Regions from separate parts of the Homo sapiens genome. Here regions 2, 3, 4, 5, 6 and 7 are each linked to region 1. Evidence: promoter capture Hi-C in 16 types of primary human blood cells and fetal thymus (Javierre and others, 2016). All regions are on one chromosome and are shown on one strand. The core of a region is centred on a gene start or on the middle of the fragment in contact, and the rest is flanking DNA. Distances in the headings are between cores, read along the strand shown.

The links. The method cuts DNA at HindIII sites, captures the fragments that hold promoters and counts their contacts. A CHiCAGO score of 5 or more calls a contact.
Region 2: a fragment that was not itself captured here is called in contact with the fragment with the promoter of ESF1 in region 1 in 2 of 17 cell types (total CD4 T cells and naive CD8 T cells); the score reaches 6.6 in total CD4 T cells.
Region 3: the fragment with the promoter of ZNF133 here is called in contact with the fragment with the promoter of ESF1 in region 1 in 4 of 17 cell types (total CD4 T cells, non-activated CD4 T cells, naive CD8 T cells and 1 more); the score reaches 8.6 in total CD4 T cells.
Region 4: a fragment that was not itself captured here is called in contact with the fragment with the promoter of ESF1 in region 1 in 3 of 17 cell types (non-activated CD4 T cells, naive B cells and total CD4 T cells); the score reaches 7.5 in non-activated CD4 T cells.
Region 5: a contact is called between a fragment that was not itself captured here and the fragment with the promoter of ESF1 in region 1, in 3 of 17 cell types (total CD4 T cells, non-activated CD4 T cells and naive CD8 T cells). The highest score is 8.2, in total CD4 T cells.
Region 6: a fragment that was not itself captured here is called in contact with the fragment with the promoter of ESF1 in region 1 in 1 of 17 cell types (naive CD8 T cells); the score reaches 5.1 in naive CD8 T cells.
Region 7: a fragment that was not itself captured here is called in contact with the fragment with the promoter of ESF1 in region 1 in 1 of 17 cell types (total CD4 T cells); the score reaches 6.0 in total CD4 T cells.

Annotation. Positions count from the first base shown.
Region 1 is chr20:13,781,899-13,786,202 of GRCh38, reverse strand. ESF1 (ESF1 nucleolar pre-rRNA processing protein) reads left to right here and starts at 1,284. Exons shown (of 14, transcript NM_001276380.2): 1 at 1,284-1,323; 2 at 3,020-3,699. The coding sequence starts at 3,063. NDUFAF5 (NADH:ubiquinone oxidoreductase complex assembly factor 5) reads right to left here and starts at 1,175. Exons shown (of 11, transcript NM_024120.5): 1 at 913-1,175. The coding sequence starts at 1,134. RefSeq lists enhancers at 265-954, 950-1,239. The HindIII fragment of the contact is 9,427 bases long and covers 1-4,304 here.
Region 2 is chr20:18,569,178-18,573,481 of GRCh38, reverse strand. SMIM26 (small integral membrane protein 26) reads right to left here. Exons shown (of 2, transcript NM_001348957.2): 2 at 3,922-4,246. The coding sequence ends at 4,077. Among named protein-coding and RNA genes, the nearest start is that of SMIM26, 3.9 kb to the right of the region's middle. The HindIII fragment of the contact is 2,280 bases long and covers 1,247-3,526 here.
Region 3 is chr20:18,286,270-18,290,573 of GRCh38, reverse strand. It overlaps ZNF133 (zinc finger protein 133), which reads right to left and starts at 2,047. Exons shown (of 7, transcript NM_001352452.2): 1 at 1,970-2,047. RefSeq lists enhancers at 1,315-1,434, 1,995-2,334, 1,440-2,345, 2,425-2,474. The HindIII fragment of the contact is 851 bases long and covers 1,594-2,444 here.
Region 4 is chr20:18,133,055-18,137,358 of GRCh38, reverse strand. It overlaps a transcript of KAT14 not described here. Among named protein-coding and RNA genes, the nearest start is that of KAT14, 2.7 kb to the left of the region's middle. The HindIII fragment of the contact is 2,828 bases long and covers 1-2,664 here.
Region 5 is chr20:17,962,585-17,966,888 of GRCh38, reverse strand. The region is part of intron 1 of SNX5 (sorting nexin 5); the gene reads left to right. SNORD17 (small nucleolar RNA, C/D box 17) reads left to right here and starts at 3,943; the gene lies at 3,943-4,179. RefSeq lists an enhancer at 600-679. The HindIII fragment of the contact is 815 bases long and covers 1,077-1,891 here.
Region 6 is chr20:17,677,106-17,681,409 of GRCh38, reverse strand. It overlaps RRBP1 (ribosome binding protein 1), which reads left to right. Exons shown (of 25, transcript NM_001365613.2): 2 at 1,335-1,411. Among named protein-coding and RNA genes, the nearest start is that of RRBP1, 3.0 kb to the left of the region's middle. RefSeq lists a silencer at 1-237 and enhancers at 1-483, 675-1,874. The HindIII fragment of the contact is 811 bases long and covers 1,344-2,154 here.
Region 7 is chr20:17,570,787-17,575,090 of GRCh38, reverse strand. The region is part of intron 1 of DSTN (destrin, actin depolymerizing factor); the gene reads right to left. Among named protein-coding and RNA genes, the nearest start is that of DSTN, 2.9 kb to the right of the region's middle. The HindIII fragment of the contact is 2,061 bases long and covers 1,231-3,291 here.

The DNA.
Region 1 (4,304 bases), core at 35-2,534:
ACTGTTTGTTGCATTATACTTGACTCCAACTTTGTTCCACTCCTGAATAAAAATTTACTGAGGCCTGAACTTGAGAATGCGTGTCCTGAAAGTAGAAACCCTCAGTCTCTGGCTCACCTGGGCAGGGAGAAAGGTTTCTCAAACGAGCCAAGACAAATCAGAAATCTTAATTTGATCTTCCTAAAACATAAGTCAGATCACTCCACTGATTAAAACAAGAGCTTCACATTCCCCTAGAGCAGTGCTGACCAAAAATCATGAGAGCCACATATGTAATTTCAAATTTTCTAGTAGCCACATAAGAAAAAAAGTAAAAACGAGAGAAATTTTAATTGAAAAATTTAAATTTATATTTAATATATTTCATGTGACCCAATATATCAAAAATAATCACTGCAACATGTAATCAATATAAAAGCTCTTAATGAGCTATTTTACATCCTTTTTTCATACTAAGTCACTATACTCGTGTGTATTTTACAACACATCTCAATTGGACTAGTCACCTTTCAAGTGTTCAACAGCCACATGTGTGGCCGGCAGTTACCATACTGGCTGGACAGTGCAGATACAGAAGAAAACCCCAAGTCCCTATCCTGCAAGGCCCTGATGATTTGGGTCCTCCTAACCTTCTCTCCCACTCTCTCCCTCTCCGGAGCTTCACTGGAGGCCTCTATAAGGTCCTTTCAGCCTCAAGGACGTTGCCGAAATGAATGCATGAATGAATGAAAGCATGTTACAAATATCCGAGGCCAGGCCTTGCGTGATTACAGTAGAGGCCGAAAGAGGCAGGGCTGCTGGTCAAGGTCAGACGGCTAGGTGGGGTGAGCTCGGGGCCTAGCCGGAACTAGCGGAGAGGAAAACAAGCCTCCGCGTCGCCCGCCCCGCCGCCCCGCCGCCCCGCGGGCTCACCTCCTCCTTCAGGTAGTCAAATTTGGTCGGCTCGGGCTGCCGGGCTGCCCAGTTCTTCTGTTTCCTTTTCAAATCCCGGTCGAAAATATTCAGGGTTCTGGGCGAGGTGCTACCGCGGGGAGAGACACCAGAGGTGACTTCCCTACGGCCAAGATTCTCCGCTGGGACCCTCGCCGCCCAAGGTCGCCGACATAAGCGCCAGAGCCCTGCCGGCCGCAGCATCTCCAGCTGCGACCCCAATTGCCGGCGCTTTTTGTGCGCATGCGCCAGCGCGGCTTTTGTGTCTACTCCAAAGATCTTCTCGAGGGAACGTGCAAGTAGTTTGGCCTAGTTCGCTTGCCATTACGGCGGAGCGTCACGCGGAGGATTGTGGGTGTGAGCCCCACGTGAGGCTTGGTAGGACTGCGGACGGTGAGTGGGGATGGACTGGAGTTGAAGAGCTCGAGATGAAGGGCTTGAGGGCGTGTGTGTGTGTGGCGCGGGGAAAAAACTAGTCTCTAACAGGATCTCTTTCGGATCTGCGAGGGGTTTTGCCCCTTCCTCCTGAGCCTTTTTCGGTCTCATTCTTCAGTCTTCATCGATCCTTTTCAGGGTCGCTTCTCGAATCAGTCTGTTAGCTGCCCCCCTGCGGTACAGGAGGTGGAAAGGAGACCCTAGTTCAGGGGCCAGCCCTGTGTTCTCCGAATTAGAGAGCGGGCAGAAGGGGAGGGTGGGCTACGGGGATGCGGGCGCGTGTCGGGAGTGAGGTCCGGTCGCCTTCCCCTCTCTCGGATTATCTGACATATAATGAGTGCTTTCCTTCTAAACATTTACAATACATGCAGTACTTCTCCTGGTTGAGGTGGTACCTACCTCGTAAGATTGCTCAGAGAGTTAAGTGCTGTAATACATCGAAAAATGTGTAAATGCACCAGCGATAGCTTCCTTTTTTTTCCTAGTTAGTGTAATTAAAAGGACTTGATTTTTAAATAAGAAATATTGCCCTTTTAATCATTTTGGGGGGGGGTTGCTTAATAATCAACGACTTTTGGCTCTTTGCAAAATTCCCATCCAGAGATGCTAAACCATTGGAGACTTTTCACAAGGGAACAATATTAATTTATACACACATATGTATATGTTCTAGTATGTTTTGGGGGAATGAGCTCACTTGGGCCTTCATCACTGGTAGAATCAGATATTATAGAAAGAAGTGATATTTATTAACTGGTGTGAGACTTTACCTGGAGACTCAAATTTACTTTTTATTTTTAAACTTTTTATTACTTTTGAAGGATGATCGAATTTAAAAAGGAAACTTTCTTAGCTAAACCTGAGTTGATTTTGGTCTGTTTAGTTAGAATGCTAGTCTTACAGAACTAAAGGCTGTTTGTTGGCAGTAGCCGGAGATAAGGAGTAAGCAGAATGAGACCAGAATGTGAAGAAACAAATGAGGCCAACGGAGGCTAGGGAATCTTTCTTTCTTACTTTTTTTTGGTAGACAGGGTCTCACTCTGTTGCCCCAGCTGGTGTGCTGTAGTGCCGTTAGGCTCACTCTAGCCAAGACCTCCCGGGTGGAAGTGATCCTCTTGCCTTAGCCTCCAAAGTAGCTGGGACTACAGGCGCGCGCCACCATGCCGGGCTCATTTTTGTATTTCTTGTGGGGATTCACCATGTTACCCAGGCTGGTCCTGAACTCCTGGGCTCAAGTGATCCGCCCGCCTTGGCCTCCGAAAGTGCTGGTGAGCCACCGCACTCGGCCTAGGGAATCTTAACTACATTTGCCTTCAATTAGTAACACATACTGGTATACAAATAGAAATTCTAAGTGAGAGCAATGGATGAATAAACATTTGTTCCCCTCCATAAAGCCCTGGGATTCTGCTTTGTCTACCTTAAGTTTATTTCTCTAAATGATCTGTCATGGAAAGAGGATATTTTGGTATGTTTCTGCTTTTTTGCATGTGACCCAGAATACGTTGGAGAGATGAAATTAGACTTGTTACCTCTATTTTATGTACACTTAACTTAGAATATATTAACTTAGAATATATTGTGAATGTGTTTTAAAACATTTAATTATTGTACTAACCATTATTACCATTAAAACATTTGTTTTATTTTTCAGTATTTGTTTTCTTCAAGCATTTGGTCGAGATTAAGAATTAAAAATGTCATCCAAACAAGAAATAATGAGTGACCAGCGGTTTAGACGGGTTGCAAAGGACCCGAGATTTTGGGAAATGCCAGAAAAGGATCGAAAAGTCAAAATTGACAAGAGATTTCGAGCCATGTTTCATGACAAGAAGTTCAAGTTGAACTATGCCGTGGATAAAAGAGGGCGCCCCATTAGCCATAGCACTACAGAGGATTTGAAGCGTTTTTACGACCTTTCAGATTCTGATTCCAATCTCTCTGGTGAAGATAGCAAAGCATTGAGTCAAAAGAAAATAAAGAAGAAAAAAACCCAGACTAAAAAAGAAATCGATTCAAAAAATCTAGTTGAGAAAAAGAAAGAAACCAAGAAGGCTAATCACAAGGGTTCTGAAAATAAAACTGATTTAGATAATTCTATAGGAATTAAAAAAATGAAAACCTCATGTAAATTTAAGATAGATTCAAACATAAGTCCGAAGAAGGATAGCAAAGAATTTACACAAAAAAATAAGAAAGAGAAAAAAAACATTGTTCAACATACTACAGACTCTTCTCTCGAAGAAAAACAAAGGACATTAGACTCAGGCACCTCTGAAATTGTGAAATCTCCCAGAATCGAGTGTTCTAAGACAAGAAGAGAAATGCAATCAGGTAGGTTGGAAAAAATTAGAGATTCTTGGGTGTTACATTATTTATTTTTATACTGATCTTTCAAAAATGTAAACACATTAATAAGTATTTTCATAGTATTATGGAATGGTCAAATGCTTATCTGGAAATACAAAGCTATAAAAGAAATATGCAGTGATTATTAATTTTTGATGTGGTGCTAGAAGACAGACATGAAAATTTGAATCTTGAAGTTAAACAGTGATTTTGATTAGTGGTGAGCCCTAATGAGAACTATATTCTCTAACCAGATAAAGTGTTATATGTCATCACATGATAAGAAGAGATGTGTCTAAAGAGGGTAAGTAGGCCGGACATGGTGGCTCACGCCTGTAATCCCAGCACTTTGGCAGGCCAAGGCGGGCAGATCACTTGAGGTCAGGAGTTCAAGACCAGCCTGGCCAACATGGTGAAACCCCATCTCTACTAAAAATAAAAAAAAATAGCCAGGCATGGTGGCGCACACCTGTAGTCCCAGCTATTCGGGAGGCTGAGGCAGGAGAATTGCTTGAACCTGGGAGGTGGAGGTTGCAATAAGCTGAGATTGCACCACTGCACTCCAGACTGGCTGACAGAGCGAGACTCTG
Region 2 (4,304 bases), core at 1,137-3,636, 4.8 Mb before region 1:
AGTAGTTAAGAAAAAGTATAAAATAATAAAAAGTAGTCTGGAATGTCTATTAGGAATTCCAGACACAGAGAAAAAAAATTAAAAGGCAAACGGAATTCCTAAAAAATAAGAAAATTCCCCAGAACAAAACAAGAGTTTCCATGAACTAAGAACCCACTGAGTGATCAGCCTAGTCAATTTTTTTAAGCCACACTAGGTGCATCATTGTAAAAATTTCAGAACACTAGAGATGAAGGAGGTCCTAAGACCTTCTGGAGAGAAGAAAACAGGTAATAATCAAAGATTAGGACTTCTCAGCTGAAATATTGGAATTGCTAGAATACAGGGGACTGATGCTTTCAAAATTCTGAGGGAAAGTAATGATCAAACCTGGGGTTCTGTACCCAGGCCAACTAGTAATTGAGTATGAGAATACGAAAAAGACATGTTCTGGTCGGGTACACTGGCTCATGCCCATAATCCCAGCACTTTGGGAGGTGGAGGCAGGCGGATCACTTGAGGCCAGGAGTTTGAGACCAGCCTGGCCAATATGGCGAAACCCCATCTCTACTAAAAATGCAAAATTAGCTGGGTGTGATGGCGCAGGCCTGTAGTCCCAGCTACTCGGGAGGCTCAGGCATGAGAATTGCTTGAACTTGGGAAGCGGAGGTTGCAGTGAGCCGAGATCGCACCACTGCACTCCAGCCTCGGTGACAGAGCGAAACTGTCTCAAAAAAAAAAAGACATGTTCAGACATGAAAAATCACCAAAAAATTATATACCCTTTTTCAGAATTATGGGGACACAGTATCGAGAAAACAGAGATCCATTATAGGATGGCAAAGCAAATAGCAAAGAAAAATGGATGCAAAGCAGAACTAGAGTGATCAGTCCAGATTGTACCAAGAAGACAAAGAGCTCCAAGATTTAAAAACAGAAAAGAGAAACTGGAAAGGTTTGTGTGGAAAATTATATTGTGAGGTTAGAGGATGTGGAAAGAATGAGAGAGAAACATCAAGAAAACAAAGCAAATGAAAAAAAGAGTGCAGTTAACTCCAGAAAGAAAAGTTATATGAGAAACAATTATAGCTCACTTACTTGGCTTATCAACAAACTATGTTTGCATAGTTAAAACAGGGTAAATATTAATTATTGATTCATCAAAAATATGCAATAGTTTTATTGGTTAGTCAGTTGGAAAGGAGGATCAAATCCTCATTAATAAATCCCATACATGATTGATAAATTAAAGATATTAGTAAAAGCTTATTATTTAGAAATGTGGACGTAAATACCAAAAAAAAAAAAAAAAAAACCTAATAGTTGAAAGCAAGGAGGGATAAAGCAGGAACTGTTTTTTTGGTTACAAACTTTTGATCATTATTTAATTTTTTAATGCATTTGTTGCTTTGTTAAAAATATAAAAATTAATTTCAAAAAAGTCATGCTGGCTAATACTGTAGAAACCAATTGGAGGGGACTCCAAGTAGAGACAAAGAGAGTAGGAAGTTGAGGCTACATAAGCAAAGAGGATGGAGGATTTAAGTAAGGTAGTGGTAAAGGGAATGGGAAGGTGGGAATGGAGTGGAATATTTGCAGTAGAAATGATGGGACCTGGTGGCTGGAGGAAGGAGAAGGAACAAGAAGAGGGAGAAGTCTAGAATGATAGGTTCCTAATTTGAGGAACTGAGTACTCTCTGAGAAAGAGAACGGAAGGAAGAGCAGCCTTGTGGGTGATGACAGCAATTTAAGTTATGGACAAAGCTGAGGTGGCTAGATATCCAAGTGGCAATGCTAGATGGACATGGATCTTGAGTTCAGGAGAACGCTGGGCTGAAATAAGAGAATAAATTAGATCTAGCAAAGAAACCCAGCCAAGTCCCAAGGAAAGCTAACCCAAATGTCCCCTTAAGCCCCACAAGTGTATGAATCCTGGGTAGACTGCCAGGTGAGAGTAGAAGTTCAGCTGTTTATCCTCGGTGTGCTCTATTAACAACTCTCACCTGCCAAGTGCCACAGCCCCTCAGCCCTTGCCCTTTGTTTCTCTGGAAGCCCTCATGTTAGGAAATGTCTTCCAAAACGTTCATGCTACTGTTCCCATTTCTCCCATACTTCTGATTCACTTGCTTCTCACCTTCCCCATCTACTGTCGTACACTGCTTCTCATTCATCAGTTTGATGCCAACCAAGATGGTCCACTGGAATACACAGCCAATTGGCACGAATCCATGCTTGACCTGATATCCCTTGGGAAGCTGAGTCTCTGCTACCAGCATCTGGAGCTGTTACTTGTGATTTTGGAATCCTTGTCACTAAGGCTGACTGCACCACAGCACTGCTCAGGCCACCCATAATGGTGGAACTGACACCAATGAGAAATCAAGATGAGGGTCTGAAGGTCATAGTACTGTAGAGGAACCCTGAAATGCCCAATTCCTGTCCTACCACACATCACATCTCTACTCACAGGGTCCCAACAGCTATGAACAGGAAAACACTACCTAAATGAGAAACAAATGCCACTTTATTCATAACTGAGGCAGTACTCTATAATCCATAGGCAGGGATCTGATAAAAACTGAACTGAGTCTCTCGCAAGGGTGGAAGCCAAAGACCAGGTTGAGGAGAGGCTGGTCAGACTTTGGCACTGCACATGGGAGGTAGTATCTTCTTGGGATATTTGTATTACTCCAGAAAGGTGAGAAAAGCAGCTGGTGTGCAATAAGAAAAGCAAGGCCAAGAGCCCAGGCAGGCTCAACAAGTGGCTGCCTGCATTCTGGTCCCAGTGTCAGGCCTTCTGAAGACAACATACTGCTTTTTTTTTTTTTTTTTGAGATGGAATCTCGCTGTCAACAGGCTGGAGTGCAGTGGTGCGATCTCAGCTCACTGCAACCTCCGCCTCCCAGATTCAAGCGATTCTCCTGCCTCAGCCTCCCAAGTAGCTGGGACTACAGGTGCGCGGTGCCATGCCCAGCTAATTTTTGTATTTTTAATAGAGACAGGGTTTCACCATGCTGGCCAAGACGGTCTCGATCTCTTGACCTTGTGATCCGCCCCTCGGCCTCCCAAAGTGCAGGGAGTACAGGCGTGAGCCACCGCTCCTGGCCCATACTCTCTGCTTTAATTCTGAGCTACCAATACACGTTTTTTATAAACACCCACTTTTGATTTAAGCTCACTTGTGTTTGTTGCCTGCAACCAAGAGACCACTGAGGAAACTGGTTCAGCATCAATCATGTCGTCCTGACTGCATTCCCAGCATTAGAATAGCACTGGCCACAGTTGGTGGGTAATCCACACTTGCTGAAGGAATGAGGGGTATGTGCACTGGTCCTAAAGAATAGGTCCAGTCTGTTTAATTCAGAAGTTACAATCAAATTTATATCATACTTACCCAGTACGCAGTAGTACCCAAAGGGCTACTGTGAATCCCAAAGTGAATATGGAGATTTGCTGAAACTAACCTTAAAGCGACCACTAAAGCTGTGCCTAATAGCAACATGAAAGAAATATAAATCTACATTAACTAGTTTCAGGAAATCAAGCTTATGGAAGCTCTATGTGAAATTTCACAGCAATCTTTCACTCATGCAAATACAGAGGAACACCTCTTGAAAATGCAGATAGTAGGCCGGGGACCGTGGCTCACACCTGTAATCCCAGCACTTTGGGAGGCTGAGGCAGGCGGATCACAAGGTCAGGAGATGGAGACCATCCTGGCTAACACGGTGAAACCCTGTCTCCACTGAAAACACAAAAAATTAGCCAGACATGGTGGCAGGCGCCTTTAGTCCCAGCTACTCGGGAGGCTGAGGCAGGAGAATGGCATGAACCTGGGAGGCGGAGCTTGCAGTGAGCCGAGATCGAGCCACTGCACTCCAGCCTGGGTGACACAGCAAGACTCCGTCTCAAAAAAAAAAAAAAAAAAGAAAACGCAGATAGTTTCCTTCAAGAAAATATTTATTGCATATTATTAGTGATTATGTTTTACAGCAAATTTAAATACATACACTTTTCACAAACCCAAAATGGGAATCAGGGCAACTATCAAATTTAAATGTTGAACCAAGTCCTGGTTTTCAGAATTCAGCAGCCAGTCATGGTTCTGTACCAGGGCCACCAGTCCATGATTTCCAATAGTTGAGGATCTTTTCTGTATTTGGAACAAAATCTTCTTTATATGTGACAACTGTTTCCACATAAAATCCTTTTGGGCGTTCAGAGAGTTCACTGGGTACTTCACTTGCTGAGCCATCCTTTTGGTCTACTTTATCACCATTAAGAGAAAAAAAAAAAAAGAACACCTGAATTATTAACTTAGAAAG
Region 3 (4,304 bases), core at 798-3,297, 4.5 Mb before region 1:
GATATTAATAAGTTATTAATTTTGTTGGGTATAACAAAATATAATTGTAACAATGTAACTGTATAACAATGAAATTGTGGTTATGTTAAAAAAAGAAGTCCTTATGTGTTAGAGATGCCTCCTGAAGTGTTCCCAGGTGAAATGATATAACTGGGATTTGCTGCCAAAACTCTAGCAGGGAAAAGAGTAAGTGAGAGTATTGGAAGACAGAAGAACAGAATGTTAACAACTTCACAGGACCTGACAAGCCCTGGGAATGAGCAGTCTGAACAAATACTGAAAGAAGGAATGTAGGGGAAGAATATAGGTGTAATGAATGAGAGCATCAGCTCTGAAAAATATTCCCTGTGAAAATGATCACTCTTAAAACAAGCCTAGTTTCCTGAAGGAACCAGCTGGGGCCCTGATCCCTGGATGGGACATTGTAGAACACAGACGTCAAAGCTGAGCAAAAGAAACCCACTCATGGTTCGAAATGCAAAAGGTAAGTGGCACCCACCTGAAGCTGGGCTGTCAGGAGCTCAGGAGTACCCCCTTTCCCCAGCAGGCAGTCCTCTCTGGGCAGACAGGAGCCACAGGGAGGCAGAACAAGAACAAAAAGCGTTCAAGAAAATCAAGGGAAATCCTCTCCAGCAGGGCAGTACCTCCTATTCCTTAACAGCATCAGGAATGAACCTGCCACAGAAGAAAAGGAGAAAAGAACTGCGGGCAGCTTCCTGGGAACACAGCTGGGGTACAGGTTGAAAGCACGACCTGCCCTGATATGCTGTTGACGCTGAGCATGAAGCGACCTTCTCTGTGCCTGTTATTAATGAAAGGTAATATTCACTGAACACTTAGTATACACCAGAGACTGTTACAGCCACTGTAGGAGTTTCACCTCATTCTATCCTTTCAACAACCCAATACGATAGATGCTATTATCCTCTTTAGGATAAAATCGAGGAAACTGAGGTACAGTGAAGTCAGCATCTTGCCCAAGGTGACACAGCTATAAAGTGACAGAGCCTAGAGGAAATGTGGCTGTGGAGACCGTGCTCTTACACAGTAAGGGCAGTGACGGTGAACTCTGGATTGCAAGGATTCTCTGTGTCCATTCTGAGATGAATCAAGATTGGTCATAAGGTTTTAAGTGTTGAATCTGGGTGATGGAGATCTGGTCTATAGAGTTCTATCTACTTCTGGCTGTTTGAAATTTCTCCGCAATAAAAACTTAAATGGAATGTAAAATCCCAAAGCCTGGCCACACCAGGGGCCTGGGAATCCGTAATTCTTGCGATCAATGACGGTCCCTGGGACCTTTGGAAAAAACCTGTCCTGTGCGTCCCAGCCAGACTTCCTCCTCCAACGCCCGAACCCGGGGGTGACCAACCAAAGTGAAACCCTAAGATCGCGGCAAAATGGCCACCCCAGATCCAGTCTAACCTTGGCTTGTTTGGTCAAGCCAGACCGCTCCTCATTCCACTCCAGCAAAGCCGAAGAATAGTGTGGCCCCAAGAGACTAGCCCTCAACCGACCAATGCCTCGGGGACACATGGCCCCAGGGATGGTTCCCATTCCACCACCTGGGAAATACCATTCCCCCAAAAAGCTTATTTATTCAACTCCCCCAAAACCGGGGACTTATGGCATCAGCGACTCCCTTTCCCAATACCCGACTTCAGCCAAAGCCGAACCTGTCCCCACCCACAAGAACCCTAGGAGAGAGAGCCCGATCCCCCACTCATCACCATCCAGTTTCACGGATGGGCTTCACCCAACTCCCCTGGAGATGCACGCCCACACCCCCAAAATAAGACATCTGGGAGAGGACGGCCTGCGCCACGCCAGCGCGTTCCCACCACAATCACCACCCCCGCGCCACCCGCACGGTCCCCAAATTCAGCCCATAGTCCAGCCTTTCGGGACCTTCCTTTTCGCGCAGAAAAGGGTACGGCTGCGGCAAGGGTCCCGCGGGAGCCTCACTCACCAGCGCCACCAAAGAACAAGGGGTCGCTCCAGCCACCAGCTGGGGAGCTCCTCCAGCGGGGCGCCAGGACTACACTACCCCGAATCCTCGGCACAGCGCCCGGACCACACCTCCCAGGATGCTCGGCGCCACCAGGCGCGCCCTGAAGGCCGGCAGCTCCCATTGGCCTCTGACGGATCCGTTTCTGAGTAACACGCTCCGGTCACCGGAGAATGGCCACTGTGGCACCTGAATTCTCCCTCTTTTTTCTTAACCACGTGCATAAAACACGTAGGAGCTCCCGAGAAGAGTGCCTGGCCCTACTGTGACCCTCCTTCTGAGCGCCTCTGTCTCGAAAACTACACTTCCCAGTGACCCCTGGAGCGACTTCCGCACCCGGTACCGGCCCCGCCCCTTGGCGCGCGGAAATGACGTTTCGGGGCGCATCTGTTCGGCTTCTGGGGTTGGCGGAGGTGTACCGCTGGCTGACCAAGCTTGTTCAGGTGCTGGTTTGTGTTGCAGCGGCCTGTGGTCTCCCTGGCTCCAGCCGCCTGCTTGGAAAGTCACGCCCCATATTCCTAAACACCGGGCGAACGTCATGTCGTATACCCTTTAGCTCCATTTAAAGCCTTGAAAAGGCCGAGCAGTCTGCCTGAAGTCTCACATCCCGTACGAGGTAGACCCGATTCTGAGCCCACGCCCTCAACCCGAATACACCTTTTCCGGTGCCCTGAGACCTTTTTCTTCTTTTTGAAATCCACGAAGTTATTGTTAAACTCTCATCTCCTGAGAAGCAGAAGCCTCAGTCTCGGGCCAGAGCTTGGCCTGCCGTCGGCTTGGATCTCTAGGTCTTTGTCCGGGATCCTGGTTGAGAACAAGATTGCGCTGGTGCCATCTGGGACGCCCCATCTGGGGAGCTCGAGGGGAAGGCCCACGTCACTCTTGAGAGGGCTTTTCCACCCGTGCACCCTCTCACTGCCCTTCACCTTCCTCAGATAGGCTTTCTGAAACTTTGTCATTCTCTTGGAAGACCAAGAAAATGACCACTGTCTGAAGGGCCAGGGAGATGAGAATTTCCTAAAATTCTTTTGTAGCTCTCAGAGGGTGAATCCATTCCCTTCTGGTACCCCGAGGCTACATTATTTATTGTGAATTCAGTTCAGTCCTGGCTCCGGAGACATGTCCAGTGTCAATTGGATTCATCCCTCAACATCATTCTCTGCCTCATGAGTCAGTCATCACCAAGAAATTAGTTGTTAATACACATAAAGGTTCAGAACAACAATGCAGGGATGCCTGTGTTCAAGTGTTCACTTGTGCTGGCTGTACAATAAAGACACAGATGGCTGACATCTCTTAAGCCTGGAAATGAAGACTTACAGGATGAGGTGCTGCCTGAGGAATTAGGCAAGATGAGGAGTTGGAAGAACACAGACGAGTAAGGAAGAGTGTAGGAAGTGTGAACAGAATCTCAGGGTCTGAGCCACTGGGTGGACTGTCATGACCACAGTGAGATTTTCAGCAGCACGTGGTCTTGCAGCCAGCTGACTTGCATATAGACAGGGATGCTAGATGTCCACCGTCTAGATGTACAGCTCTGTCATACAGATATTTGGTGTGTCCAGCCTCCAGTTTCATCTTTGACAGACCTCAGCATTTAATAATTAGGAGTTTCCATCTAGAAATCTGGATTGCCTGCTTTCTAAAACACTCTTTGCTGCCATGTCCTCTTTTTCTCCTGGCATTTCCCACCCACTCCATGCCATACCTCATCTGGAATACCCTTAGCTCCTCTGAATCCATCTGGTCCTTCAAGACCAAATACCTAGCTCTCTTTCGTGAAACCTTCCCTGATCACTATACTATAGTGACTACTTGAGACTCTTCTAACCCTGGCTGTACTTGGAAGCTTTTAAAAATACAATGCCTGAACACCACCCCAAGAAATGAGTTTGCAGTGGAGCCTGGGCATCCATTATTCATAACAGAGCTGTTTTCCTCTTGAGAAGGGAAGATGTTGTGTAATAATGTAGAAGAGAGATCTTGTTTTGGAAAATCAGAAGTTTAGTTATTGGTTGTTGCTATTTCTGAACCATATACCTCGGTAGATCATTTAACCCAGCGCTCTCAAAAACATGCATACATGTCACTTGGGATCTTGTAAGCAGCAAATTCTGAATCAGAATGCCTGATGGAGCCCAAGCATCAGCATTTCTAATAAGCTTCCAGATGATGCTGGTACTGCTTGTCTTCAGACCAGACTGGGTAACAAGGCTTTAAACCAATCAGGGGCTCAGATCTTTAAATTGAATATAAGCAGCTAGATTAAAGAATCTCCAAATTCCTAAATCTCAGA
Region 4 (4,304 bases), core at 1-2,500, 4.4 Mb before region 1:
TGGTTTCACCTTGACGCTGTGGGGCGACTGGTCAGGCTCGGATTATTATTATTATTATTATTATAATTTTGATACAGAGTCTCTGTCTATCGCCCAGGCTGGAGTGCAGTGGCGCGATCTCGGCTCACTGCAACCTTACCGGATTCAAGCGATTCTCCTGCCTCAGCCTCCCGAGAGGATTACAGGCGTGAGCCACCGCGCCTGGCCCCATGTAATCTTTGTGATCACTTTTACACCCAAGTTTCCGCGCCAGTAATACAAGGGAAATAAATGATATAAAGAAGTCTTGCGTTGGGAATAGTTAAGCAATTGTGCAAGACGCATTTTCACTTCTTCCTCGGGTAAAAAAGGCAAGGCCTCCCAGAAACTTTTAAGTATCTGATAGAGCAACCAGTGAAAACGTGTTCATCATTCAATCATTCTTTCCCACTAGAATTCACAGAGAACGAGCTTCTTCCGGTGGACACGGCTATAGGCAGTATTGATTAAGCCTCACCAGGGAGTTTTACAACATTCATTACTGTTCATAGTGCTTTGCTATTCCAGTCTCTTATGTGAGCGTAAATGGCATAAGGGGACTATTGCTCTTAAAGGTATCTTTAAAGATACCTTTTCCAAATGTCATTTTGTCCACAGCATTTTTTGCAGCCTAGAGAGAATGTACCACTGAATTGGAAAATGGAGTTCTTGCTGTAATGAACTTTGAGAAGAAATTCAGTTCAGGGTGTATTTGCATATTTCTCTTTAAAAATTATATTAGACTTCTTTTTATTCGTGGTATATCCTAGATATTTTCCCCTGTAAATCAGTGAGCCTTCAACAGAGCTGTATGTCCTTAGAGTGTACATCAGGGAATTAGATCAATCGCCTTTCATTTTATTGTGACTAATTTTTCAACTTGTTTTCTTGAAATGTACTCTTTTCTTTATTTTCAGGATACTAGAAGCAAAAAAAAAAGTATTCTACTTTTAAGAAATCATTTATTATTAACTGTGTCAAATAAAAAAGTGGGTTGGGGGACTGAGGGAGGTCTTGCAAAAAAAAAAAAGTATGTTTATCTGTTTAAATATTTATAAGCCTAAGCAGTATATTTTCCGTGATTATTGTCGCATAAATTACTGATTTGTGAGAGTGACTGCATATCATCAAACTGAGAAGCAACTATTTTTTTCTTTTTCTTTTCTTTTCTTCTTTTTAATTGAGACAGGGTCTCACTCCGTCGCCCAGGCTGGAGTGCTGTGGGGTGATCTCACTGCAACCTTTGCCTCCCAGATTCAAGCGATTCTTGTATCTCAGCCTCTGGAGTAGTTGGGGTTACAGGCCTGAGCCACCAGGCTGCACTAATTTTTGTATTTTTAGTAGAGATGGGGTTTCACCATGTTGGCTAGGCTGATCTAGAACTCTAGTACTGGGTGCTGGTACTGGGTGTTTGTGAAAATTGGTCCAGTGGCACACCAAGGCTGTGTGGTCACACATACATGCATGATACACTTCTATACAAAATCTTACATAACTATACGAACAGAAAAAAAATGGCTCTTTTTTGTTTCTTTTATTGTCTTTATTTCCTTTTGATTTTTTATTGTGTGTTTTTTTCTTTTTTTTCCCATTGGTTCATAGCCGATGGCTTTACATTTTATCATCACTTCTTGTATCAAATAGCTTTTTGGCTGGGAACGGTGGTTCATGCCTGTATTCCAGGCACTTTGGGAGGCCAAGGCAGGTGGATCACTTGAGGTCAGGAGTTCGAGAACAGCCTGGCCAATATGGTGAAACCCCGTCTCTACTGAAAATACAAAAATTCGCCAAATGTGGCAGCGCATGCCTGTAATCCCAGCTACTTGGGAGGCTGAGGCAGGAGAATTGCTTGAACCCGAGAGGCAGAGGTTGCAGTGAGCCACTGCACTCCAGCCTCGGTGACAGAGTGAGACTTCAACTCAAAAAAAAAAAAAAAAAAGTTTTTTCTCCATGGTAACTATCAAAAATTAAAGAGATGATCATTTAAAAAGATTTTGATCAGCCAGGCGTGGTGGCTCACACCTTTAATCCTAGCACTTTGGGAGGCCAAGGAGGGTGGATCACTTGAGGTCAGGGATTCGAGACCAGCCTGGCCAACATGATGAAACCCCGTCTCTACTAAAAATACAAAAATTAGCCAGGTGTGGTGGTGGGTGCCTGTAATCCCAGCTACTTGGGAGACTGAGGCAAGAGAATCACTTGAGCCCGGGAGGTGGAGGTTGCAGTGAGCCGAGATCAAACCACTGCACTCCAGCCTGGGTGACAGAGTGAGACTCCATCTCAAAAAAAAAAAAAAAAAAAAAAAATCTTGATCAAGAACTATGTGCAGGAGCAATGATCAGGAACTATTTTTAACACAAAACTTGATATTTAAAAGAGACTCCAAGAAGAATGTTATCAGGAAATTTTACCCAAAGTTGATATTTAAATCTACCCCAAGATTTGCTTTTATTTTTCTTCTCATAATTATATGTCATTTATTTTTTTGTTTTTCTTTTTCTTTTTTATAAGAGTACCATATAAAGGAAATGTAAATAATTATTATCCATGAAGCTCCTTTTAGAATTATCCAAGCTCACGCAAGTTGATCCCAGTGAGTTGTACAGATATCCTTATTTTTTATGTTTACCAAGGTGGGACGAAGCTTAGGAAGCATGGCTGATTTAATACAATTTGCTTGTAAGGCCAGAACATCTGAACCTTGTGTATCTGGCTATATTCTAGTGTCTCGGCATCCTAAGATCACATCAGTTCCTGCCCCTCTCAGCTTTGGATTGACTTAGGTGTGCCCAGAATGGCCACTGCTTTCCTGGAGAGGACAGTGGGTGCCTTGCCCTGCCATTGGCTGGCCTTCAGAGTGAACTTACCTCCAAAGACAAAAATAGGAAGCTGACCACCTTAAAAACCGCTCAGTGGCTCCCCATGCCTACAGGATAAAGTCCCATACTCTTTAGAACAGCATACTACCCTGTCCTTCCCTTCAGAATCCTCTAAGCAAGAGGCAGCATCAAAAAAGAAGTACAGTTGGAAGTCAGGGCTTGGAGAAGAATCAACAAATGAAAACTAAGGGGAGGGAATGCAGTCATTTTCCTGTGTTTGAACAACATGGTCACACAATCTTTGTTCCACCTTCACTCACACAAGGGTGGGGACTTGAAAAAAATGCCTTCCTCACTGAGTGTGTAATTTGGCTTATGTTATTTGGGCTTGAATCATGGCCAGGTCCTGGCAGCTATCCTGGGAGAGCTGGGTTTCGGGTCACTTCTGTCTTAAAGAATAGTAAATCACTAGTACCCTAGCAGGAGGTATCAGTAGGAGGCACGGGTTTAAACTGGGCTTGATGGTGGGCATGAATGCAATAGGTCAAGGCAGAGGCTTCAGGCAATGATCAGAAGCTTGTCATCATTGGGGCTGAGAGAGAAGGAGGAGGTGGGAAGGAGGAGGTTTGTTTGGGAAGAAGGTGGAGGGTGTCAGCTGAACTGGCACCAGTGACTGATAAATTTATCAGTCTCAGCACTAAATGATTACAGAAACATCACACCACATGGCACCGCATAAAGCACCATTATGACTATTTTAAATGCAAGCAAGAAGGCTTGCCTTGTGTATGGCCCTGTAGTGGGCTCTATAGGCAGACAAGGCCACGAAATCCCACCTTCTTCAGGCTGAGGCTCTGAAGTCAGCACATAAGGAAAAAGTCAAAAACAGTTAAAACTACCCTTGAAAACATTTTAGGAAGGTGACATGTTGAAGAAAATAGATATTTTCTCAGGAACTCCAAAACAGCCAGTTTTTCTTCTGGTACTGGAATTAATCACCATGAATTCAATGCAGTATCTATATAAGTAATCTGAAATTCTGCACAGGTTTGTCTCTTCTCTCCCATTTAGTAACTGATTCAATCATTTGTTTCTATCAGTGTGGACTGGTGGGTATTTATTTTATACTTTGGGTTATAATCCAATATTACTTTATTTTGTTGCTCAGATGGCTCCCGCTTTGGCCGTTGGGAGATCTTTCAGCTCCTCTGCTTCTCTGACGGACCCTCATCAATGTGTGTTTTTCTTGTTTAGCACTTGTCTATTTTCTGACACTGCACAATATTCTGAGCTAATCTTGTATATTTCCTGCCCAAGTCTCAGAATCTGCCATTTCTCCAAGAATCCAAGGTTCTTTTTATTGTAGAATAATATTGGAATCCAAGATATAGGTCCTGGCATGCTTATTGCTACTGGGGCTTTGTTTCTTTTGGGCCCTCTCAGCTGACAAAGCACATAAATATATGT
Region 5 (4,304 bases), core at 235-2,734, 4.2 Mb before region 1:
GCTGATAACCTGCTGTGGTCTGGCCTAGATGGTGTTATGGTTAACTGAAAGGGAGTTTGGGGCAAGTATGAAATAATGGGAAACTAAGTCTTGGGCAACTTTTTGCCATAATACAATTTCGGTAGTCAACTGAAATGTTTTGTGTGTTACCTGAAATGTGTGTTACTTAAATTGTTTAAATGCCCTCCTGATAATTTACTTTGGTTTGGAATTCTCCCTAAGGATGGAGTTAATTAAGACTCACTAAGGTAGGGGGACATACTTGATTCTTCAGGATTTTGAATTCTAGCCCAATACTCATTTTGGCCAATTCAGCAAAACTGAAAGGGAATACTGTGTCAGTCGTGTCTGGTAGCCAGACACTGGCATTTTGTTACATTCTTTAGCCGAGGGTGTTGGGGTTTGCCTTCTTCCTCAGAAAATAGTTCAGGGGAAGAGATGCATGGTTAATTTGGTTCCTAACTGGTCCTCTATTTACTGGTTTTTGATTTTTTTTTTTTTTTTGAGACGGAGTCTCGCTCTGTCGTCCAGGCTGGAGCGCAATGGCTCGATCTCAGCTCACTGCAACTTCCGCTTTCTGGGTTCAAGCGATTCTCCTGCCTCAGCCTCTCAAGTAGCTGGGATTACAGTCGCTCACCGCCATGCCCGGCTAATTTTTGTATTTTTGTGGAGACCGGGTTTCACCATGTTGGCCAGGCTGGTATTTGAACTCGACCTTCGCAGCCTAGTGCTATTTTTAACTAGGGGGTTCTCCTTCCTTGACAGTAACAACTTGGCCTTAACTTACTGCTTGGTTACAGGGACTTTGGTGAATGATATCTGTCCTCTTACCTACTCAGGAGTGTTTGTAGACTAAGTACTGCTGCTCTGGTTTCGTGTTTAACTGGTGTGGAAGCTGCCTCTAGGGGTATTTTTGTTCTCCATTAGCTAGAATGGAGTGCAGTTGGTTAGTATAGGAACAATCCTGAACTTTGACCAATACCATAGCAAGTCCAAACTTACAAACTTTGTGGACTGAAGCTTTATGCTACCCTTGCAACTATTTTCTAAGTTGAGGAAGTATGACGTATCAAGCTTCCCACGCCTTAGTTCTAGTTCAGTAACTTGTACTCGGTGTCTTAAGATCCCCATTTGTGAATACTCTAAAAGGTCATTATCTGTTCACATTATTTTGGCCATAGGTAGAAATGGCCAAGAGGCTTTTTTTTTTTTTTTTTTGAGACAGGGTCTGGCTCTGTCACCCAGGCGGGAGTGCAGTGTCACGATCACAACTCACTGCAGCCTCGACCTGGGGAGCTCAGGTGATCACCCCCACCTCAGCCTCCTGAGTAGCTGGGGCTACAGGCACACACCAGCATGCCCACCTAATTTTTGTATTTTTTGGTAGAGATGGGGTTTCACCATCCAGTTCAACATGCCGGGATTACAGGCATGAGCCATTGTGCTTGGCCAAGGCTGTTAAGTTTTCTAGATTTGTTTCTGAGCTGTAAACTCCTCATTCGGTGAGACCTAGTGGTCATCTAAACTAGAGGTTGAGTTTAAAATTCAGTTTCTCAACCTGGGGAGCACTGTTGACATTTTAGCCTGATCACTTTTGTTGAGGAGTGCCCTCTGGGTTGTAGGATGTGAAGCAACTGTTTTTGGCCTCTGCTAGGACGCGGCCTCCTCCCCTCCCATGGTGATAAGAAGTCAAAATTGCCTGTTTGAGAATCACTGGTTTAAACGGACTTCCTTCTAAAATGGTGTGATATGGGTGGGGTCAGGTTGTGTTACAGAAGCTAGTCTTTGTGTGCTTGTTGCGAATTTTTCAGGTTTTCTATTAATCTTGCCTAAGGAAATAACATGCCATGTAAAAATTAGCATTGTTGGATATCTTTGTGAGAATAAAGCTTTTCCACTAATACTGAGGAACCTTAACAAAAGGTGGTGAAAGATGGTTTTCTTCAGCAGGTTCTGGGTACTTGAGGGTTGCAAAGGGAGGGCTTCGTGTTTGTGTTTGTGAGTGTAGGCTTTGGACACTGGAAACTTACCTGAGTTTCTTGTGCTGCAGAGGGGAACTTGGTTTAAAATTCTGCTGTTTCAGCATTTTTCTGTCTTTATTATCAGGGTCTTGATGCTCGAGCAAATTAGGTGAGAACAGATCTATAGGTTAGTACCCTGAATGTCTTAAATAGCCCGTGGTCACAACAGTGTGTAGTGAAGTTAAATAGTATTTAAGGAAACAGTCTAACTTTTAATGATCCCAATAGTGAGAAACGGCTATTAAAGTGTAAATTAAGTTTCTCTGCATGATCTAACTTTCCAAAAAGTGGCTTCTTCACCCTTAATACCTGTTTTCTGATTGGCCATTGAGGTACTCTGACAAGATCTCCTAAAAGAGATCTTCACACCTTCACATGCTGCCTAAAGGCAAACCATAGTACCCCAGGAGGAGTAAGTTGCAGTTTGAGGGGCAGCCAACACTTAAGTTTAAAAATGGGGGTCCTTGGCTTGACTCTTCTTTTTACATTTTGGCATAACTTTTTTAGGCATTCCTATATGGTCTGGAGAGAAAACTAATTTTCTGCCTGAAAAGCTCAGTTTCTGAAGGGCACACTCCTAAGCATTCTAGTCATGGTAAATGGTGAGGAATACAAATCCAGATGGCTCCCTTGTCAGGGTTTTCACTTTTTCTTTCAAGAGCACCGCAGAGCTAGGACATTGTGCTGTTAGATACTTGGTAGCTGGTGGGTGATAAAATGTTGGACTTCTTCCCTCACCCTTCCTATATCTTTCATGAATTTTGTTTTGAATTCTTGTATTTATTTTGTTTAGAATTCTTTTTCTCAAGACAGTCTTGCTGTGTTGCCCAAGCTGGTATCGAACTCCTGAGCTCAGGCCATCTTCCTGCACTCAGCCTCCTGAATGGGCCCCTGGTCTGAGTATTGGAATATTTACATCTGAATGATTTGGGAAATTTGCTGTACCTCAAACTCAAGAGTGAAAGAAATGTCCAACCAAAAAGCGGGCAGCCTGCTCTCCATGCTGCCATTTGTATTTCAAACTGAGATGACCAAGGTTAAGTTCAAACAGGCAGCTCTACCACTGTTGCTGAATCGTCTTTCTTGGTAAAGGTAAATTGTCAAACCTATTTCCTGTGCATCTTGGTTTGATCATGAAGTGAGACCATGAAGGAAGGCAGTAAATGTCCTTCAACACCCTCATCCACATGAGTAATATGGACCATCTTAGCTTTGTTGAAGAGGGCTTGTTCCAGCCTTGGCAACAGAGTGAGACCCTGCTACAAAAAAGGGGGCTTGCTGACTTGATATGGTATGCCAGTGAACTTTTGGGAGGGAGCCATGATGGGATTGGGTAGTAGGTGAAGGCTTTTAGCTCTGAGTAAAGGAAACTGGCATTTCTGTTTTTTACTTTTTGAGACAGGGTCTCAGGGTCTCGGCCTGCTCCCAGGCTCGAGTTCAGTGGTCTGATCGTAGTTCACTGCAGACTCAAAATCCTGAGCTCAAGTGATCTTCCCACCTCAGCCTCCCAGAGTGTTAGGAGTAAAGGCATAGGCCACCGAGCCTAGGTGATTTTTTTTAAGGCTTTGCTGTGTTGCCCAGGCTTGTCTCAAACTCCTGGCCGCGGGCGATCCTCCTGCCTCAGCCTCCCAAAGTGCTGGGATTACAGACAAGAACCTCTCTGCCTGGCTGGGTTTCTTTTATTCATTTGTTGGACCTGCTTTCTTGGTAGCAGTGGTGTATTGATTCCCAGTAGGATTTATCTGCCAGGAGATCCTTACAGATCATTAGTTCAGCTGTTTTGCTTTGTGAATTCATTTGAAAGTATTATAATTTCGGTACTTAGTAATTAGATGGATTTCTTGACATGCATTAGATATTTAAGGCAGTAATTTAACTCTGGTTCCATGTTGATTCCATTAGTACATGGGCTTGCAGCCTTGTGAAATGATGATTCAGTTTATCCATTCGCTGAGTGCGCTGCACTGACCTTCTTCCAAGCCTCAGTTCCTGTTCTAGGAACTTGAGGCTATGTAGCCTGAAAATGCCCTGCAGTCTGCAGTGTTCTACTGTGAACTGCTTGTGTGTTGGCAGGCTACCGGTAAGAATGGTTGGTGTCAGCAGGGACGGGGCCCTCTGAGACCCATCTCACAAAGATGAGTGGTGAAAATCTGATCACTTGCTGCAGCCCTTTAGTTTTTTATTAAGCCGATGCCTGAGTAGCTTTAATAGCTATTAGCTATGTTAGTAGACTGAGATCTTCTGTTAGAAGTCTTTAGTTCTGTTTTCCTTGGGGGACTAAGA
Region 6 (4,304 bases), core at 500-2,999, 3.9 Mb before region 1:
GCCGCAGGGCTCGCGGCGCAGGGACCGGGTCTGTCCATGGCACGGACGCCGGGCGGCCGCGGTGGCAACTTCCCGGAGTGCGGGAGGCGGCTCCCTGCTCCCCCTGGCGGCGGGGCCGGGGCCACCGTTTCCCCGGCTGGGCTGCGCGGAGCCTGGCTCGAGGGCTCCCGGCGGGGGGACGAGGGCGCCCGGGGCCCGGCCCGCCCCGCCCGCGGCCACGATGAATGGGCCGGCGGTGCCAGCCCCGGGCGGAAGCGGACACCTCCGGGCCGGCCAAGCGCGCTGGCACCCGGCCTGGTGCCCGCCCCGGCCCGGCCGGCTCTCCCGCTGCGCCCTGATTAGGGGAGGCAGGCCGGGGTCTGCGCTTCCAGTGGGGCGCCCGCAGTGCTTCAGGGACCCCTCTCCGAATGATAAGTCGCGAGTTTTAGCTCTAGAGTGCCCCGGCTGGCGAGGGTGACCCCGACCAAGTTGTTTCGTTCGGGGTCTCCATTTCCTGGTCTGCAAATCGGGGCTCCTGTTAGCTTCGATTTGCGAGGAAAGCTGTGGAGACCCAGCACTTGTAGGAAGGAGCCACAAGTGTTGGCTGTTCAGTTGGGATGCTTTTGTTGGGGGGTGCTGGACACGGGAGGAAGGTGGGGCCTGGCTCCGGCACTGCGGCGGGCGCGGGGCTGCAGAAGTTGCACAGCCGGGGTTCTACACCCCGGACCACGTACTGGCCGCCTACTCGCAGGTCCCATAGCCCCTCTGAATCCTAGTTTCTTATCTGTGGCCTGAAGACAGCACCACCCACTCACAGGGTCGGGAACCACGCCGGGAAGTGCTGGGACCTTGTACAAACAGAAGGCAATTTGGCAATTACTCTGAGAGGTCAGAGGTTAGGAGAGACTGGGAAGCACCAAGGAAATGAAACTCTGAGGGACCTGAGGAGCCTCCCACGTCACTGCTCAGCTATTCACTCTGCGTGCTGGAACCTTCAGGGTAGGGGCCATCTGGATGGCATTTTCAGGAATTTGGAGAAATGGGCCTGGTAGGGCCTCATATCTCACATTAGATACCTCTTCAGAACTGGGTGTCCCCAGAGACCCAGGACGTCTGTCTGGCACTCCCAGGAAGAACAACTGCGAATGTTACCCCGCCCTGTGCAGCTGGGGGGCATTCTCCCACTGCCCCGCCTCCCTCCTCACACTCCTTGTTTGATTTAACTTCCTGTTAATCCGACACCTAGAGAAATCTGTGACCCTGCAGCATGTCACTTACTGTGTGATGTCTTGACTCGTTTACGAACTTGCCAAAGGTCACTCCCACTATCATATGCCAACCTCTTTCCCTTCCAGAAAGAAGCTTCCGGTTCTGAGGTCCTGGAGGTGCCATTTCCCTCTCTGTTGAAGCAAAGGCCGGGGCAGACCTCCTAGTAGGTGAAGTTTTCCTTTTACATGGAGCACCGCAAAGCCGGCTTGCAGGGATCTTGGGCCAGTGGAGGCCTGGAGGAGGCTAAGGTTGGGGGAGGGGAAACCAGAAAGGGATCTTGGGGTTTAGGAGAGGGTTTAGAGCTCTAGGCACTATAACAACTCTCACCTTTCATACTTAGGAATCTGCCTCTGAACATTTACAGAGAGATTAAGAAGTTACAGTGGTTCATGGTATATGAGTATTTTTTGGTGATGGAAGAGTTTTAAATAAATCTTAAATCAAGTCACATTTGAGCAATTATGCTCTTTAATGAAATGAGCCCTAACTCAACAGGCTGCAATAATTACATAGCAGCAAACTCAGTTTAAATGGTTGAATGCCAGTGATTGAATTGGAGTATTGATTTATTATGTAGCAGGGACACCTTTTAAAAGTGTCGGGACCCCAGACTCTTCTTGTCTTTTTAGCCCTGGGAATTTTAACTAATAGATGAATGACACATAGAGGATCAACAGTTCTGTTGAGACAGCAAGTTTTTCTTTGCTAAAATCTTGTTTCAGGAGAAACAAAAATAATGGTCAAGTCAGAATGATGAAGGCAGGGACTGTGCTGTCCGTCTGTGCATGCTGGGCCTGCAGTGGTTAAGGCCTGGCCTATAACATCATAAATATTGGTTATACCAGGCGGACAGCGCCCCCATACCTGTTAAACTATTCCCAGCTGTCTCATTGGATAAATGAAGCTTAGCCCAACTTGGTTTTTAAGGTTCACTTTTTAGAATCAGATTCCACAACTGTGGTTTACATTTAGGCCTTAAAATAACCCTGTTCTAGGGGGTGGGAATGGTTGTCACCCATTCAGTGGATGAGAATGTGGAGGTCCAGCTGGTCAGAAGGTTGTCAGGCCAGTTCCTGTTGCCCAGTTGCTAGGCGATGTGGGCCCGGCCTTCCAAATGTTCCCTCCTGGCTATATACCTCCACCTTCCTGGGGCAATAATTACCCAAGGGAGGACACAGAACGTGAAGATCAAAATTAAGAGCTTCAGTGGCAGGAAGGTGGGGAGGCATTTTGAAAATCTGGCAGTGCTGAAGGTATTTTTCATTTCATTTTTTTCACCGAGGGTCTCCTGTGTGGTGGGCCTTCAAACACCGCAAGTGAGACCTAGTTCTTGCCTGAAAAAGCTACTGTCTAGAACTGTGTTGTCCAATACAGTAGCCACAAGTAGCAATTTAAGTTTAAAACAATTCAAATTAAGTAAAATTAAAAATTCAATTTCTGAGTCAAATTAGCCACATTTCAGGTGCTCAGTAGTCATAAGTTGGTCAGCGTGGCTGTAGATGGTTTCCACCATCACAGAAAGTTCTAGACAGTGCTGATGTAGAGGCAGCTGGTATTCTGTAAACATTCATGTCCCTGTTCCTCTTGATCATGTGGTAATATGTTGAACCACATGAAATTGCCCATTCTGTAGGTCAAAACCAGTTGACTAGTGGCAGTTGATACACTTCACCTGATAAGATCTCACCCTGAGAAAGCATTAGTCCCGCCTCTTTGTGTGCATTGTAAACTGCATTCCAAGAAAAAGGAGTGGGAGGGGGGCCACACAGATAGTGGCCCTTTCCTGGAGAGATTTTTTACCCAATGCCCTCAGCATCAAAATGGTGACTTGTAACAAAGACAGAAAATAAATTGATATTAGGTAGAAAGTGATGGCTTGTAAGGGAAGGTAAATATTTAATTTTAAGTGACAGTGCCTAGGCAAGGAGGCACTCTCACTTAGCATATAGAAAATTAGTTCAGGGGCCTCCTAGGAGACTTTTCTTAGGCAGACAAATTCTGGCCGAGTCTCCTGAAGCAGACAACCAGACACCCCCAAAACCAGACGTGTGTGTCCTTTATGTGCATTCAGTAACATGTGTCTTCCACCTGTCAACAATGGGCAGCAACTTTAACTTATCAAGAACATTTTGTGATTTCTAACTTAGATTTTTTTGGCAAGACTAGAATACCTGCCCAGTCCCGAAACCTTTTCAGTTCCAAAGTATTGGAGTTCCAGTGTTCTTGGGTGGCATAAATTGCTTCCTACACCAGTGACTATTTACACAGCTCTGTTATTCTCCATATAACTTTTTTTTCTTTTTCTTTTTTCTCTTTTTTTTTGAGACAAAGTTTCGCTCTTGTTGCCCAGGCTGGAGTCCAATGGCGTGATCTTGGTTTACTGCAACTTCTACCTCCCGGGTTCAAGTGATTCTTCTGCCTCAGCCTCCCAAGTAGCTGGGATTACAGGCATGCGCCACCACACCCGGCTAATTTTGTATTTTTAGTAGAGACGGGGTTTCACCATGTTAGTCAGGCTGGTCTAGAAGTCCTGACCTCAGGTGATCTGCCCTCCTCGGCCTCCCAAAGTGCTAGGATTATAGGCATGAGCCACCGTGCCCGGCCTCCATATAACTTCGAAAGGATCATTGGGCAGTACTGGGGAATAATTTTTGAATTCTTGGTTGTACTTGTGGGCTCATCTTAGTATTAGTACTCTGTAAAGAATAATATAAAACCAAAGTTTAACTTTAAAGGAAGAAGCTGAATGATGGACAGCTACTTGATCTCTTTCTGGTCAGAAAGGAGGCCCACTAAGACTACTGGAAGTTACAGACTATTTATAGTGATAATGAATATCATCTGCTGACTCAAAAGTTGGAATAAAAGACCATCTTGAATTCAAATCTTTAATTCTCTATCCTGGGCAAGGTATAAGCAAACAAGGTCTGTTAGGGTATAAGCAAACAAGGTCTGTTAGGCTGTCTTGAGAGGAATTCCAAACTGGTGCCCTGTGTGAGCTGAACTTGGCCTTCACATGGAATTTGTTTCACTGACCTCATGTTATTAAGCAATTG
Region 7 (4,304 bases), core at 1,012-3,511, 3.8 Mb before region 1:
GGAAGATTGTTTGAGACCAGTCTGGGCAATGTAGCAAAATCTCATTTCTACAAAAAATTTTAAAAAGTTAGCTGGGTGTGGTGGTGCACATCTGTAGTCCCAGCTACTCCGCAGGCTGAGGTGGGAGGATCATTTGAGCCCAGGAGATCAAGGCTGCAGTTGAGCTCCAGCCTGGGTGGCTGCAAGAGAGTCTGTCTCAAAAAAAAAAAAAAAAAAAAAACAAAAGAAAAGAAAAGAAAAAGAAAAGAAAGAAAAAAGAAAGGAAAAAAAGGAAAGGAAAGGAGAAAGAAAAGAAAGTCAGTCATGTTTACTTGTTTTGCATGTTTGTTTTTTAGACTTTTAATTTTTTTTTTTTTTTTTTTTTTGAGACTGAGTCTCGCTCTGTCACCCAGGCTGGAGTGCAATGGTGCGATCTTAGCTCACTACAACCTCCGCCTCCTGGGTTTAAGCGATTCTCCTGCCTCAGCCTCCTGAGTAGCTGGGATTACAGGCACGTGCCACCACGCCCAGCTATAGACTTTTAATTTTTTAGAGAAGTTTTAGGTACACAGCAAATTTTAGCAGAAGTGCATTGTTCCCATATATCTACTGTGTGTGCTTTTACATTTTGGCTAGAAGAACTGCCAGGAAAGAGAGGGGTAAGTGTAAAGTGAAGGACATTAATCTCCACAGCCCTTGGCAAAGAAGGAAAGAACTCTGTCCTAAGTCACTCTACATTCTACCACTACCAGGGGCCTAAAAATGGCAGGTGGATAGAATTAACAGAGAGTATTGAACTTCTGGTAATTAGCTGGCTAAGGGGCCTGGAAAGAAATTTATGTGCCAGAAAAGAGAAATATTACTCCTCAGTATGAGGTTCTGGTATTGATAATCATGTTCTTGTTTTTTGAGACAGGGTCTCCCGCTGTGGCCAGGCTGGAGTGCAGTAGTACAATCATAGCTCACAGAAGCCTCTAACACCCAGGCTCAAGCAATACTCCCACCTCAGTCCCCCAAATAGCTAGGAGTATAGGCACATGCCAGCATGCCCAGTTAATTTTTATTTAATTTTTTTGTTCAGACAAGGTCTCACTATATTGTCCAGGCTGGTCTCCAACTCCTGGCTTCAAGCAATCCTCCTGCCTCAACCTCCCAACGTGCTGGGATGACAGGTATAGGCCACTGTATCCAGCTGATTTTTTTTTTTTTTTTTTTACTGCTACATTTACTTTATGGCTCTGCAAATAAGCTTAGGTGAAGATGGTAAGTATTTACAGAATGGCCAGGTTTGCAGGATGCAGCATGCGTGTAAAAACCTAAGATGCAATAAACATATGAAAAGAGTCAGCTCACTAGTAATCAAAGAAATGCAAAATAAAATAATGAGAAACCATTTCACAACCATCAGACTGGCAAAGGTTTCAAGTCTCTTATTAAGTGGTGAAAGGCAATGTAGAAACAAGCTGTTAATGATGAGATACAACCAGAACGAACCAGTAGTAGAGTAGAAAATATGTATGCTCCAATCCAGGGCTTCCGCTTCTAGATATACACCATGGAGAGATACACACTGGGGCTAGAGAAGTAATATATAGCAATATATGACATGGAAATTGCCTATTATAAAAACTTTAAATAGACCAAAAAAAGGCAAAAAATTAGGAAATGGCTGAATGTCTATCAACAGGGGAATGGATAAACTTGCACAATCATACAAAAGAACACAATTCAGCAGTTGAAGAACCAAAGCTACAAATAAATCCAAAAGCTGCCCTCCCCTGGGAAAAAAAAAACCACCCCCACAAAGTTTAATTTTTTCTCACAGAGCTGCAAAAGGATACATGAAGCACAGTATTTACGTAAGTTTTAAAAGCACATCAAGGCAATACATATGAATGATTAAGTAGCTAAAAGTATGGAACTATCAATGAATATCAATTTCAGGTGACTACTGTGAACTTTACCTGAGCTCTGTGTTCTCAGAAAGCAGTGATGGTTAATCCACCCCACCGTTTTGTGTTCTGGGAAACAGGTAACTGCAAAGAACTGGCCTGTTGCATATTTTCAAATAAGGCAATCAGGAATGCTCTCCTAATTGCAATAGCCTGAATAAAATCATCTCCTTAACCAGCCAGGATATTATGTCTTTGACACAGGAATGGTTATAACTCTAGGGAGGGAAGGGAGTGGGATGAGGAAGATGATGCATATTTAGCTGTAATGATAACATAAAAACCTGAAATATGGCAATAAGATAGCCCTGTTTTTCCTGTACAAAAGGATCTGTTATTCTGTGTACTTTTCTGCTTAAAATGTTTCAAAATTATTATTTTAAAACTTGGAGTTGGAAAAGGTGATTTGTCTCAAGTCAATTAATCCTTTACAATCTGTTTTCTCATATGTTAAATAGGCATGTGAATACATGCCCAACCTATTTCACTGGGTTGTAGTGTTTTTGCTAATCACCAAGTATTAGAATACTTGAATACTGCGCCAATTAGTTCAGTCTGTGAGACCACAGTCCAGATTAGGATAAGGTTAAGGGTTAGATTATCGTGCAAACCTTTTAACTCTACTTCAGGGGCAAGACTACACTCTTACTTTCCAAGAAGCATAAAAGATACTCTGGTTACAAGAGGAGCTAGGCAAGTCTAGGTGTGATGTCTCAATCCATATCCAGTAGAACTACTGAGCAAATAACCTTAGTAACTTGATGATGGGCTACTAAACAATCTCTGTATAAGGAGGCTGGCACACCCAGTACACACACACACACGTTTTGTTTGGGGTCTGTAATTGTGGTTCACGTGGAGGCAGACGTTGTTTGTTTTTTGTTGGAGGAGACATCTGAAAACATCTAATCTCATCCTGAAGCGCCCAGCTGGTTTCAAACTGCTTTATTTCAGGTGCTTCTAAAAGACTTGGTGAGTACAAGGAAGTGATTCTGCTAATTTAGAACAAACCCATCGGTAGTTAAAATTTAATCTTAAAAGAAACTTGGAACCAAGCATCTAACCAAAAGAGCTAAAAGCAAAGTGCTAGACTCTGGGATAATACCCACAATATTCTCTAATCACTGAACTAAACAAAGATGCTCCTGCGCTCATAAGGCTAAAAACAAAAATAACCTTTAAAAATGGGGGGTCTATAATCTGAACTCTAAGAGTAACTTGTAAGGTCTTCTTGATCTCCCTAAAGCCAACAATTTTGAAGCGTATTTGGAAATCGCTCATTTCTAATTTTTATTTCTCCCACTCCTCACAAGAACCAGGAAATATAACAGACCCTTCCTTCCTTGAATTTAGTTAAGCTTTAACTAAAACTAAGCATTTAACTAAAGGTAAAATGTTTGGTCTCTTATTTTCAAACAGAAAAATAAAGTCTGTATTAGCCACTCAATAAAAAAGCATAATGTCAAATCAGAAGTCTCTAGAGCAGACCCTAGTCAGCTTCAAAGCACTTTCACAGAGTGAATGGTCTTAAGCGTACCATAACTCAAAGCCCCTAGATTAAGTCTTTCAGTATAAAGTAGCATATACATTTAAAATGTTATTAAATTTCTAATAATTAGATATTAAAAAGACTCAAGATGCTGATACTTTGTAGCTTACAGCATTAAACCAAAGAAGAACCAAAAACTGAACAGTATCAAATCCCTATTACATACATATCTACAGTCATCAAGAAACTACCGGTTTATCTTTTCTTTCACTAAGGGGCCGCCTGCATGTTCACGGAAGTTGTAGTAACTTAAGAAAACCAAAACTGTTATACAGTGAAAACAGTTTGTATGCAGATAAGCTGGTACCAACTGCTTCTAGACAGATGCAATTACAGTGTAATATTTCTAGCAAAGTCTGGTAAGGCTACGCCTGCAAATCACTGACCAAAAATGGTAACAGTGTGTGCACACTAACGAAAACGACAAAATGTTCCAACTGATAGTTCAGTTGAGAATACGTTTTTAAATAGCTAATTAGAGTGACAGTGTAAAGGGGGAAAATATGTAAATTAAGCAAAATGTCCATCATATAGAATATACTAATGAGCACCTGTTTACTTTCTGGTGACTCCAGTATTTTAATGGTTTTTAAAGCTCTTAAATTTGGTTGTATCAGCATCCCAGCATCATGCCCACACCTTGCGCACCAAGTTCTGGCAGAGTCCAACTGTCTACAGGTCAGAAAAAAAATTCTAACCATACACGGACAGATCGGGCAGGGAAGGGTTAAAACAGACACTGCCAAGCTTGACAAGCACGACGAGAGTGCTGCTGGAAGCCGATTGCCAGATAAAAAGAAAAAAACAAAGGAGCTGCAAGGCCA